Regions from separate parts of the Homo sapiens genome. Here regions 1 and 2 are each linked to region 3. The links are contacts of gene promoters, found by promoter capture Hi-C in human tissues and cell types (Jung and others, 2019). All regions are on one chromosome and are shown on one strand. Each heading gives the region's core, a stretch centred on a gene start or on the middle of the fragment in contact. The rest is flanking DNA. Distances are from core to core; before and after follow the strand shown. Region 1 overlaps CACNA1C-IT1 (CACNA1C intronic transcript 1). Region 2 has its middle 6.9 kb from the start of CACNA1C-IT2. Region 3 holds the start of FKBP4 (FKBP prolyl isomerase 4).

Region 1 (4,445 bases), core at 1,629-4,128, 770 kb after region 3:
CTCCAAGAATGTATACTGTGTACTCCTCAAAATTTCCCCAATAGTACTTCATAAGAAAAGAATCTGACCACCAGCTAGACTGAAAATCAACACTGCAAAGTCTTGTACACAGTAAACTCTCACATGAAATCTTTACAATCCATTTTTTAAGAAGAATATTCACATGGTTTCAGTCTTACAAGTTTGTGTCAAAACCCAAATGTTCAGAAAAGCATACACCATTTGTACACAGTGTAAAAAAGCCAATATTTATTGAATAAAAAAAGACATTGCCTTATACAGAGTGAAGTCTTCCAGCATCTGCAACTTCCCACGCATCCAATTACTCATTTTCAGTGTCTCTTAAATGTGTTCCCTTCATTCATTCCTACCCATTGCCACTGCTAATAATTCAGAGCTCTCCTCACCTCTCACCTTTGCTGGTGTCATTGTCTGGCAGAAATTTGTATCTAACTGATCCATCTGACTTGAGGCTCACTCCTCAACCCCAATCAATTTTTCCCTCCAAATCCAACCTCATCATTCTAATACACAGATGGGACCATCCACCTTCCCTCCCGAAGAATTTTCAAGGCTCCCCGTTACCAACAGGAAAATCCAAAAGCTTTAGCAGAGCCAATAAGTACTTGCCCATCTTGCCCAACTCAGCTTTTCAGCTTTATCTTCTATTCATCCATCCTTCTCTTTTGTATCCTTTTCTCCCACCCAAATAAATAGACCTCCAACTCTCACCTTCTTCAAATTGTTGATCATTTATACTCATACTTCTTCCAGCCAGCAACTGTTTCCATCCATCCACCACTGAATAGGCCAATAAGAATGCCAGCTCCCCCATGAAACTTTCCGACATTGCCAGGCAGTTGGCTTTCTTCTGGTCTTTCAAAGGCTTTTGCACATATGTCTACTAGTAAGGTAATAATTTGTTCTGTTATTGTTTCCAGTAAATGTCTTCCCCCCTTGGTTACCCTAGCGAAGTGCTACACAGGGGAATTATTTGTCTTTGTCTGCTCTGTGCCTAGCAAATCCTAGTAAATAACTGATAAATGCATGAATAAAACAAGTCAGGAGTTTAAAACCTGAGAAGAGGACAAAAATATGTGAAGTTAAATACTGAACAATAGAGATTGGTAATGGCTCTGCTCGGCCAGTGAAAGAAATTTGGGGAGAATTGACAAGGTAATAAAAATCCCAAGGCTGGTATTTTAGGTGAAAGCTTCTCCAAGAGGAGTTATTGGAGTCTTCAAAGGATGAAGAGGATTTGAGTCAGAAGACAGAAGATGGAACAGCATTTTGGGAGGCTGAGATGTGAGAGAATAAAGGAAAACAGGACGGCCCAAACTGTGTTGGGAGGCTAAAAGTAAAATGGGCCCAGAACCATTTTGGAGGCTTAGAGTAAACTAAGTCCTCAACAAGAAGGTGTCTGGCCCTCAACTCTGCAGAGAGTGCAGAGCTGGAACGGGAAAAGGTGACCACCACATTCACCTCTAGAGTCTCTAACACACACCACAACACCCAGGGTACTCACCTAATGGATGTCAACCATGGCAGGGGGCAGACAGCACTGCCCCAGCTGTGCTGAGACACCACCGCTTGGAATCAGCTCTTCCAGATGTTCTGTGGAACGCAGAACCATGGAACATGTCTCTGCACAGCTGGAGGTCATCTTTCCAGTCTGAATCTAAGTTGGAAGTGACCCTTCCCACTAGAAGGGGCCCCCTCGCCTTCACTACGACCACAGAATTGCACAAAGAGACAGAGAACGCAGGGTAAGGGAACTGAGAGCAGCACTTTGCAGAGGCCGTGGGGAAGGCTAAGCCTGCCTTCCCCAGAAATAAGTGCCTGGAGCCTCCACTGTGACAAATGCATAAATGAAGTTTAGTACCTAATCAGAAGAACTGTGAAGAAAAGTTGGCACTCCAGAGCAATCCAAACAAGAACAGTGCAGGATAGTCAGAGAAGACCCAGACTGGACTAGCACAGAGACCACAGCCATGGCCACACCAGCTGAGGGTCTGCACCAGCTCCTTGGAGGAGGGATGGGTGATTGGTGCCACAGCCTGCTTTGGTCTTCGTGGTTTGTTGCATATAAGTTCGTGGCCTACAGTGTATAGAGATCTCCTGACAGGTCAGAGTGCAGATGCTCTCAACAGGCCCTTTGGTTCATCTTAATCAAATCCCAAGACACAGGCCACATGTCAGAACCTGCTACTTGTCTGCCAGTATCCACTCTCCCACATGGCTGCCCAGAACAAAGACTGCATTTCCTACCTTTCAGTGGACTGAGTTCTGGTTGTTGGGCTGAGAGGGAAAAGAGATGGGTGCAACCTGGCTTTGACTCCCCTTCTTCCATCCTGCTGCCTGGACTGTGAACACAGTGGGAAGCCATCATGGGCCATGCAGGGAGGGCAACACTCTAGGTGGGCAGGAGCAACAACACAGAAGGGGCCTGGGAGTCTGACATGGAGACACCCTGGATTGCTTGAGAGAGAAATAAATGTCTACCCCCCTTAAATTCACTGTTATTTTGGGTTTCTATTATAGCAGCTAGCTCTGTGTTCCCCATCTAAGGATGTCATCTATAAATACCTGGCCCAGGTGGAGCTGGCCTGACAGTCAGAACCAAGATTCCTGGGCCATACGTGGAAGTCAGGAGAGAAGCCCCTTATGCAATTTTCTCATAATGAGCCTCAGGTTTTCCTGTATATCATTCTGCCACAGGGCTTGCAGTGCAGTAAATGAAAAGATCTAGGTAAATATCTCTGGATTGATTAAAAGCCTGTTCACTTTGAGCCAAGAGAAGGAAACCCAAGCTCAACATCTGTCAATTCCCAAAAGAGGGAGCCTCCTACAATGTCTGCACTGGGTACTAAGTGCAGGGCTTAGCTATTGCCTAATTCAACTCCTCCCCTTAATCTGGGAAGATTAAACTAGGTGGAAACCCAGGTTTCCTGACTCCCGGTGCAGTGCTCTTTTCAAGATATCTTACTGCCACTTTGAAGGCATTCATAATCTGAATGAAGTCTATTAAGCAGCAAAACATAATATCAGGCCCTGGTGTTCTGAAGAAGGTGTTGGGTAGCTATGCATTCTTCCATGTTACATCTGTCCTTTTTATTTTTCATTGGCAACCATAAGCTGTGAGCTGCATTTACTTAGAAAGGCACATTTTTGTCAAACTGGACTTACTAAGATGACTGGAAGCAGACATCCAAGAAGCACAGTAAGTACCTCTCCCAAATGACTTGTCCTGGAACAGTTACTAACAGCGCACCTCTGCCTGCTTTTGTGAAACCTGCATTCCTGGCATTTATGACAGGCTGAGGAAATAATGAGGAGAGCCCAGAGCTTCCACATTAGCCAATAGGAGGAAGTTCTCACTCGGCAGGTGGAAGCTTCTCCTGGGGAAATCCTGGAGGCTCGTTGTTCCTGTCAACTACTAAAATGTACCCATAAATTTCCTGTGACAGGAGACACAGTGTCTGAGGAGTAGAAAGTGATAAAAGCCAAAAATGTAAAAGCATTCCTGCCAGAACTCAGCCCTTCTCCACGCATGGCATTAAATATACAAGAAAGGAAGCCACTCTCCACACCCTACACTCCATCCCTGACCACTGAGGCTGTCCAGGGCAGTAAGACCAGAAGCCACAGAATAGAGAATGGGTTCTAAAGTTCACTCCAACATATGAACCTACAGAACGACAGAACACTCGATGCACCACCACCAAAGCAGGTGTTCTATTTGTCAGCTTGACTGTTTTCTTTCGTTTTTAATGGCAGACCCAGAACAAGTTAATAATTTGGGGGGCTCAGTGCAGAATGAAAATACAGGGCTCCCTGTTCAAAACTTATTAAGAATTTCAAGGCTGTGACAGCAGAGTATAAAACCAGGCTCAGAGCCCTTCTCAGTGGGAGACTGTACAAGCTGCACGTTCTCAAAGCTAAACCTGGGTAGACTCTACCTTCCACAGCATTCTCTTTTTATACCAGGTGGAATGAATGATTTATTTAAGTACAATAAGTCTTCACTTAATGCCACTGATAGGTTCTCAGGAATTGTCACTTTAAGTGAAATGATGATATAAGGGTATTACAAAATTGGTATAACAAAACCCATTTTACCGTAGGCTAATGGATACGAACAAGAGTTAAGGCTGGGTGACGTGGCTCATGCCTGTAATCTCAACACTTTGGGAGGCTGAGGCGGGAGGATCATTTGAGCCCAGGAGTTTGAGACCAGACTGGACAACATAGAGAGACCCCCTTCTCTACAAAAAATACAAAAATTAGCTGGGTGTAGTCACATGCACCTGTAGTCCCAGCTACTCAGGAGGCTGAGGCAGGAGGACCACTTGGACCCAGAGGTCCAAGTTATGACTGTGCCACTGCACTCCCCCGAGGGTGAGACTCTGTCTCAAAAAAAAAAAAAAAAAGTTCCTTAGGGCATC
Region 2 (4,270 bases), core at 1,497-3,996, 750 kb after region 3:
GCACATGGCAGAGTGAGCTTCTCAGCCATTCTGCATTTGGACACAACTATTGGACTAGTCCTGACGAATGAAATGTAAGCAGAAGTGACTGTGTCACCTCCAGGTTGAGGAGATGGAAGACCTGTTTCAATTCTTCTGTCTCTCCCCTCTCCTGCCACATTATCCAGATGGTACAGCTGCAAGATAGAGAAGCATCCATCAACCCTGAGTCCCTGAGTGACTTTGTGAACCAGAACCTCTCACTAGCCCCCTCTGGATATAGTATGATCAAGAAATAGATTTGTATTATATTAAGCTCCAGGAATGTGGAAAATATTACCATAGTATGTTAACTATCTTGACTAACAGGCTGGAATAAATCAACAACCGCATGTGTGTGAACCATGTGTGGTTAGGGATTTGCCAAGTTCTGATGCATTGAATTGACTTCTGTTCCAATCAGCATAATATCAGTCAATGATTCTAATTCATAGGAGGGCAGGCTGTAACCATAATGATCTTGCGATGAAGTAATATTGCAATCATTTATAATTTATGTAGCACATAATAGTTCTATTTGTTCCAGATAAACGGGTGACAGTGTCTATTGCAACTGATTATCCAGATGAAACACCCCAAAACACGTCTTCCTCTTAAAGTACAGGCATATTTCTCAAAGTACAGGCATATTTATGCTTGTATTTATATTGAATAGCTTATGCAAACTATTCTTATGTGGATGAATCAAGAACATGCTAACAATTTCCCAAGTGGCCTTCGAAAGTGATTGGAGTAGTGTAGGACATCTTGAAACTTGTGTACAAGTCATGATTTAATAGAATTCATTTCCAGACCCTCAACTTTCATATGTGCTCAGTCTTCACGTTCACCGGAGGACAACCCGGGGCAGAGCCTGGAGCCCACCTGCCGCTTCTCCTGTCTCTCAAAGGGGCATCCTTATCCTACACTTCAGCAGAGAAGCACACCTGTCATTCACCCTGCATCCTTCCAGGTCCATATCCCTGTGGTGTGAATGCCCCCAGGACACCAAACAAGGAAATCTAGGAAATACTGGTGCCCAGACAAGGAGACATTTGAAATACAGGTGTCTAGAAAGCCTCTTGAATCGGACAACATATCCCTTCGATCATGTAAAATATATTATTTCTGGTACATTTTATATTAAGAATTACCTCGAAAAGCTCATAATGTAAATATGTTGTTTTGCTCAGTTGTACATTAATAGTATCTGTGATGAAAATTCAATCCAAAAGAAGCGTATAACACAAAGCCTTATGTTTATAAAATTTTTAAATTTTAAATTTTAATTTATAAGCCTCTTTTTGTTGCAGAGTAATATGGTAGCGTGATCAGTAAAAGACTTTCCAGCATAAAAATATATCGTATTAGGGTAAAATTTTAAGAAGGAAATGGAATGTAAATATGTATCCAAGGAGAAAAAGAAATGATGAAAAATCTTTGACTGTTAAAAACAGGGCTTTTATATATCTTTGAATACATAATAGAAGGTATCAAATAGCTGCAGTGTTTATATTTTATTGGAAACTTTAAAAGAGTAATGCAACAATTTTATGTTAAACTGTCAAGATTTATAAAGCACCAGAAATTGCATCATTTACAACCATTTAAAATTATCATGAAACTTTTGGGATGTCAACTTGAAAACGCATGATGAGGCACAGACTTTTTCACAACTCTTTTGGGGGGATCTGCAAGCAAAGCACTGTGGAGGCCCTGGGTCAGCACAGGCTGCAGCCCCGTAAGGTCCTGGCTCGGCAGCCCCGGCCACTGAACGTTGGTTCAGGCTGCTGCTCTTCACAGGGAAGGCCAGGGCTACAGACCTTGGCAGATAAGTAAATGTTCATAAAACAAATGAACATCTCTGCTTTCTCATTCTCACTCTGTCTTCTATCCCCAACATGATCTTGAACAAGATGCCTCCCTTCTTGGGGTTTGTAGTCTTCTTGAGATTCTTGGAGAAAGCAAGCAAGGTGTCCTGTGGTCACATTATCCCAGCGGATATCAAGAATACCCTTAGCGGGCCGGGCGCAGTGGCTCATGCCTGTAATCCCAGCACTTTGGGAGGCCGAGGCGGGCAGATCACGAGGTCAGGAGATCGAGACCATCCTGGCGAACATGGTGAAACCCCGTCTCTACTAAAAATACAAAAAATTAGCCGGACGCGGTGGCAAGCGCCTGTAGTCCCAGCTACTCGGGAGGCTGAGGCGGGAGAATGGCATGAACCTGGGAGGCAGAGCTTGCAGTGAGCCAAGACAGCGCCACTGCACTCTGGCCTGGGCGAAACAGCAAGACTCCGTCTCAAAAAAAAAAAAAAAAAAAAAAAAGAATACCCTTAGCATCACTGTGACCCACACACCCCTAAGCAGTCTTTTTCAACCCAGATTGTTTGGATTTTATTCCACAACAGAGTCACTCAATTTTAAGTATGTTTTTAACCCAGAAAGGCCAAACAGAGCAGGCACTAGGACTTCACTGCCTATTTCTACCCTTTCAATGTTTGAGATGGAATTTTTCTCAGCCTCAGAAGAAATACTTTCAGTTCTGGCCTTCAATCAGGATTTATTGGACAGATCTGATTCTGCTGTATTTTCATTTACAGCCTAGAAGACAAAAGTGTCAGGTATTAGAAAGAACTCTGAGTTTAAAGCTTGTATCTATTACCACTTGGCTGTGTAACTTTAGCCAGGTCTCTTAATGTTCTTTGAGTATCAGTTCCCTCAACCATAAACCAAGGAACTTTCAAGGAATGGATTCTGAGTACAAAGTGAAATGTTAGTATGAAAAAGCTTGTCAAGGAAAAGTATAGACATAGCAGGGTACTTATTACCACAAAGATGGAATTTTCTGTCATCTTTGACAATCCATTGAAGCACCCAATAATCTTTCTTGGTCCAACCTGAATATCATTAACCACAATTCCAACCATTTTCTTTTTGTCTTTTATTCCTCTTTGGAAAAAGAGACTAGTTGGTCACCATCTCTTATGTAAGAATTAATTGTCTATTTGAAAAGAGGATGCTTAAAACCAGTTCTTCAGAAGTGAAAGTCAAGGTATTCGACATCTCCACATCACCCAGCCTACCGCTTAGACTTTGATAACAAAATTCTCTCACATTTCTTATAAAAGTCTAATTAAATCTCAACAATTTTATCCATGTAACCATTTTCTGCTTGAAAATTTCCCTTAAAACTCTGAAAGTAAATCCTATAGGGGAGGTAGTTAGATCAGCTACATTATTTGCTGTCACTTCTATGCATTTAGTGAAGGCTCACCAAGATGGATGTTCTGCAGAGAGCAGTTCAATGTTAAAAGAGTTTGGGAAGCACAGAGCTAAGAACATTTCCTATCACACAAAGACCTCATTTAAGCCATCTTTGATAGTTTCTACAATACCCAAATCATGAATGTTAAAAACAGAAACAAACGAACAAAAAAAAAATAGATGGAGTTTTGCTGTCCATCCTCAAAGTCTTAACTCTCTCCCTGCTGAAGTCATGGGTGTGCCACAGCTGGGTAGAAAAGTACCTGGATGGGAAAGCAAGTTGAATGAAGAGGTGATGACTTGAAAGAAAAATCTAGTGCCGTCAGGCTTTCCATGGCATCCAAGTAGATGCATTGGTCTCTGCCATCCTCCATCTCCTCTTTGCATAAATCCTACCCCCATCCCCATCTCCAGAAGCACTCTCTCTACATATATAGGCAGCCAACACTGACATGATGCCCCACAGGAACCCAAGAACTGTAATCCCAGCTCAGGCACAGGGATGCTCACCCCTATGGCCCAATGGTCCAAAATCATCCCTTATTCCTTCTCCCCTCCCACACCCAAACTGCAGACCTCCATCCTTTGCATCTGTGTGCAAACTCCTACTCATCCTTTAAGACTCAGCTCAAGAGTCCCGGGTCAAGTTCTTCTTCCTCTGTGTTCCCATAGAGCCTACCGCTATCTCTATCAAAGCACTAGTTATATTGCTGTAGTTATTTGTTTACCTCCTGTATTCCCAACTAGACTCTCAACATCTCAAGGGCAAGAACGATGTTGTACTTACCTTTGAATTTCCTTTACCAAGAATAGTACTTGGCTCACAGTAAGTGCTTAATAAACATCTGATGAATAAATGAATGATTGCTCTATCTATCCTGTTGGTGGTAGAGAATTAATCCAAAAAATATATTGCTAATGGTGCAATTTCAGGCATATTACAGGCTGGTAAAAGAGAAATTTTGAAACCAAGAGACCTGCCCTAC
Region 3 (4,013 bases), core at 1,365-3,864:
ATTAAGTGCTACCAGGTCTAAGAACTGTAAAAGATCACGTGACCCTGAACAAAAGAGTTTAAGATGCAAGACAGTCCACCTTTGAAGGGGGAGTAAGGTGTTGGGAGGTGATGAGGAGAAGGGGAGACAGAGATCAATATAGTTACAGAACGGTAGAAAAAAAAAAAAAAGAGTGACCGAAAGAGTTAACAGACTGTGATAAACCATTCCTCCCTGAGCTTGGTCCTGAGAAAATGGTTTCTGCTTGTGACAGCTTGTGTCCACCTCGAACCTATCCTACCAGCCCACTGACCACGCCTACCTTTTCCCAGGTCAAAGGAGAATTTGTCCTTGCGATCCAGACTGGAGTCAAACTTTGTGCCATCTAATAGCCAGCCAGTGTAGTGGACAAAGACTCGGTCCCCAATCATGGGCATCTCTGTACCTGTGCCCTCTCTCTTGATGACCTGGGAGGAAGGGGGAGAAAGTGAGTACCCCAGGGTTTGGGGCAGAAAGGGGCACCAGCACTGCCTGCAAGCCTCCAGAGGGAACATAAAGGGACTTCTCTGTGTTCATCCTCCTCTGCCTACTTGTCCCTCCAGATTCAGTTACTAGCAGCTTGGCTTATGAGTCAACTAACCTTCTTGTCTTTCTTGAGGTGCAGCAAGACTTGGTTTGAAAAAGGAGACAAAAGGCTGAGAGATCTGAGTTCAAGTTTCCGCTGTATGGTAAGTTTTTAAAATTCTCCACACTTTATTTGTAAAGCAGTGATGATAATCCCTATCTCCTACAGTTGTTGGAAGATTAGACCAGTAAAAGGTTGAATAATAGATTATTATTATAATCGGCAAAGGGGGAAGTATTTATGCCACACTTCCTCCTTCTTCCTTCATGCCAGTGGTCGTCAGACTAAGGTCTGGTTTGGAGACAGGAGAGCGAGAGGAGTATGAGTGAAGAGAATAGAAACAGTTCAAAACAGGTAAGGAAGAAACCAGGTTATAGGTGAACCCGGAGGCTCTCCATGGGACCTTAAACTCTGACTTGGGAGCTGAGTATTCCTCTGGTAGTTAGTCCAGGGCTGGAGTATTTCCCAGAAACGTAAAGGCTTCTTTAGCGCCACCTGGTAGGTGTGTGGTTACCCTCCAAGGGAAAGCTTCCACGAAGAATAGACAGGGGCTTTGAGGAGTAGAAAGGTAAAAGGGAAGGAATGATGGATCAAAGGGGAAATGAGCTTTCCTGGAATAACAATCTCGTAGAAAACGGCAGGACGCTGGAGCGAGAAGGGGAAGTCACATGCCACAGGAGAGCCGCTGGAGCAGACGCTTGAGGTCCCCAATAATCTGGTGCAAAGACAGATGCACTTCTGGACCAGGTAAAGGCCCCCTGAGGTGGGTGCCGCACACGCGGAGCTCAGCGGTGGGAAGCCAGGATGAGGACGCAGCAGCGGATGGGGAGAAGGCATAAGACGCAGGCTGGGAATTCACCATCTCTGATTCTCCCTGGAACCTGCTCCGACCCAAGGCAGGTTGTCCTGGCCCAGGTCAAGATGCCCTCCCCGCAGCTCCCCAGGCTATTTGTAGTCGAGCGGTCACTCGGCGGCAGGCTCCACAGCAGAGCGCCTCCTCCCCGCCCCACACCCCGCAGCCCTGGCTCCGGGAGGCGGCGGAGGGGGGAGGGGACTACAGCTCCCGGCATGCCCCGCGCCCGGCCTCCCCGGGGCCGAGGGAGGGGGCGCCGCGCGGCGAGTGGGGACCTCGCTGGGTCCCGGCGTCGGCAGGGGACCCCGGGAGGGCGCCGGAACCCTGTCGCGCCTGCGTCGCACAAAGGCCGAAGGGCCAGGAAAGCACTGTGGGGAGTCGCTCCCCGTCCTGGCCCGTGTTCCACCGCCCGGGTGGGCGAGCCCTGGCACCGCCACCAACGAGGCGGCCCGCGGCTGGCAGCTCCGCTGGGGCCGCGAGGTCGGGGGCGGCGTGGCGTGGGAGGCCCGGCCTGGCCCCGGGCTGCGGCTCGGGTGCCCGCGGCGGTCGCCTCGCCCCGCCCCTCTCCGCCGCCCCGCGCGCGCCGGGGTGGGCACTGCAATCCCGACCCCCTGCCCGGGCCCGGGCGCTGCCGGCTGGGGAGCCTGGGGCCTCGGCCCGCGCACCTAGGCCGCCCCCCTGCCGAGCGCATGGCCGGCCTCGGTGCCTTAAACGACGCAGCCCGGTCCGGGACGGCGATGCCACCGGCCCCCGGCGGGACGGCCGCGAGGCTGCAAAGGCGGCCGCCTCGACCCGTGCCCGGCCGCGGGCTCCGGGCGCGGCGGAAGGGCGGCCCGCGGGGCCCCGGGTTCCGACGCCTCCGCAGGCCCCGCCGCCCCTCACCTTCAGCACGCCTTCGTCCTGTTTGGGGCTGATGTCCACTCCCTCCATGGGCAGCGGCGCCGACTGCGCCCCGCTCTCGGTCGCCTTCATCTCCTCGGCTGTCATCTCCGCGCGGCGCGCCGTTTATCCGGGAGCTGGTGCCGGCGCGAGCGCACTCTGGGCCGCGGGCGGGGGCGCTACCTGCGGGGCGTGCGGGAGGCCGGGCGCGGCGGCACTGACTGCGGACCGCGAGGAGGCTTGAGCACCTCTGCACGCGGCGCGAGAGCTGGGGTAGGTGGGTCAGGAGCGGCTCGGGGAGCGATTGGTCCCGCCCCGCCGCGAGGGAGGGGCTGGGAGGAGCGGGAGCGCAGACAGAGGGGGCGGGGTGCAGAACTTTCTAGAGACGGCGGGACTGAGCCGGTTCGGGCTCAGTGCTGCGGGCGCTTCGGAATTTTTTTTTCTTTTTTTTTTTTTGGTTCTTGCCTCCTTCTGGCTGCCTGCCCCCTCCCCCTTCTCCTGGGACCCTCGGACTCGGGATCTCCCCGGCGGCCTCCCTTGGCCCTTCCTCCCTCCCTCCCATCCCCGCCCGCTTCCCTGTCTAACCGGATTCTTCCAGATTCTTCTCGATCGATCTCCCGACATCACTCCACCAGTCCGCTGCGCCTGCGGCGGGGTGTGGGGAGCGCAGGCTGCGGGATGGCAGTGGCGGCGCCCCCTCCCCGGGACCGGCCGTCACCACGGGCGGCGTGGCCTCTCTGCTATGACCCGCGTAGACCCTTCCCTACTTGGGGGAAAGAGGGCAAGGGCGTGCGCGGGGAGCGGGGAGTGAGTGGACAGCGCTGCCCCGCTGCAGAGAGCCGGGGAAAGCGACCTCGATTTCCCCAGATCCGAGAAGCCCCGGCCAGGCAGCGATGCCTCGCTCAGCGCCTGCAGATGCTGCGAGCAGCGGGGTTGGCAAGGCATGGCCCGCCCAGCTCGGAACTCAGATGGGGCACACACTCAGGGGACCCTTCCCGGCGGTAATAAAACTGCCGTTTCCGCGAATGCTTACAAAGATGGGTTCCCCTCACGAAAAAAGTCACTCGGTTTTCCTAAAGGCCCACAGAAGGAGTATTTTCTTCTCAATGTTTGCTTCCCGAGTGTTTTTCGACAGGCTGTGGAGCGCGCAGGTGCCGGTGTCACCTAAGCTATGGTCGTGGGACCTAGAGAGCCATCTAGAGAGGGGCCTGGTTTTGCTCAGCACCTAACCCCAGTTTAGCATAGTGCCTGGTGAGTGATGTCCCAATAGTTACTGGCTGCATGAATTTTCCTTTTTTAAATTTCTTTTTCCAAGTCTTGGCTGATTTTTTTTTCTTTTTTTTTTTTTTTTGAGACAGGGTCTTGCTCTGTCGCCCAGGCTGCAGTGCGGTGGTGCGATCTTGGCTCTCTGTAGCCGGGACTACAGGCGTCCGCCACCACGCCGACTAATTTTTGTATTTTTAGTAGAGACGGGGTTTCGCCATGTTGCCCAGGCTGGTCTCGAACATCTGGTCTCAAATGATCCGCCCGCCTCGGCCTCCCAAAGTTCTCGGATTACAGGCGTGAGCCACTGCGCCCAGCCTGAATTTTTATTCCAATAATAACTGTATTTTTGGACTTCCCGTTATGTGCCCGGCACTGTGCGATTGGACGCCATTAGTCTCATCAAACTAAATT

What was found. The method cuts DNA at HindIII sites, captures the fragments that hold promoters and counts their contacts. A contact is called where the count stands out against the background at its distance.
Region 1: a fragment that was not itself captured here is called in contact with the fragment with the promoter of FKBP4 in region 3 in 1 of the 25 tissues and cell types used here (dorsolateral prefrontal cortex).
Region 2: a contact is called between a fragment that was not itself captured here and the fragment with the promoter of FKBP4 in region 3, in 1 of the 25 tissues and cell types used here (dorsolateral prefrontal cortex).

The regions. Positions count from the first base shown.
Region 1 is chr12:2,022,449-2,026,893 of GRCh38, reverse strand. All of the region lies in intron 2 of CACNA1C-IT1 (CACNA1C intronic transcript 1), which reads right to left. It also overlaps a transcript of CACNA1C not described here. Among named protein-coding and RNA genes, the nearest start is that of CACNA1C-IT1, 8.0 kb to the right of the region's middle. The HindIII fragment of the contact is 3,937 bases long and covers 910-4,445 here.
Region 2 is chr12:2,039,346-2,043,615 of GRCh38, reverse strand. It overlaps a transcript of CACNA1C not described here. Among named protein-coding and RNA genes, the nearest start is that of CACNA1C-IT2, 6.9 kb to the left of the region's middle. The HindIII fragment of the contact is 5,912 bases long and covers 1-4,270 here.
Region 3 is chr12:2,793,571-2,797,583 of GRCh38, reverse strand. It overlaps FKBP4 (FKBP prolyl isomerase 4), which reads right to left and starts at 2,614. Exons shown (of 10, transcript NM_002014.4): 1 at 2,340-2,614; 2 at 302-446. The coding sequence starts at 2,444. ITFG2-AS1 (ITFG2 antisense RNA 1) reads left to right here. Exons shown (of 4, transcript NR_146317.1): 2 at 638-707. RefSeq lists enhancers at 1-1,151, 2,645-3,189, 3,190-3,735 and silencers at 1,566-1,975, 2,326-2,385, 2,416-2,795. The HindIII fragment of the contact is 5,309 bases long and covers 334-4,013 here.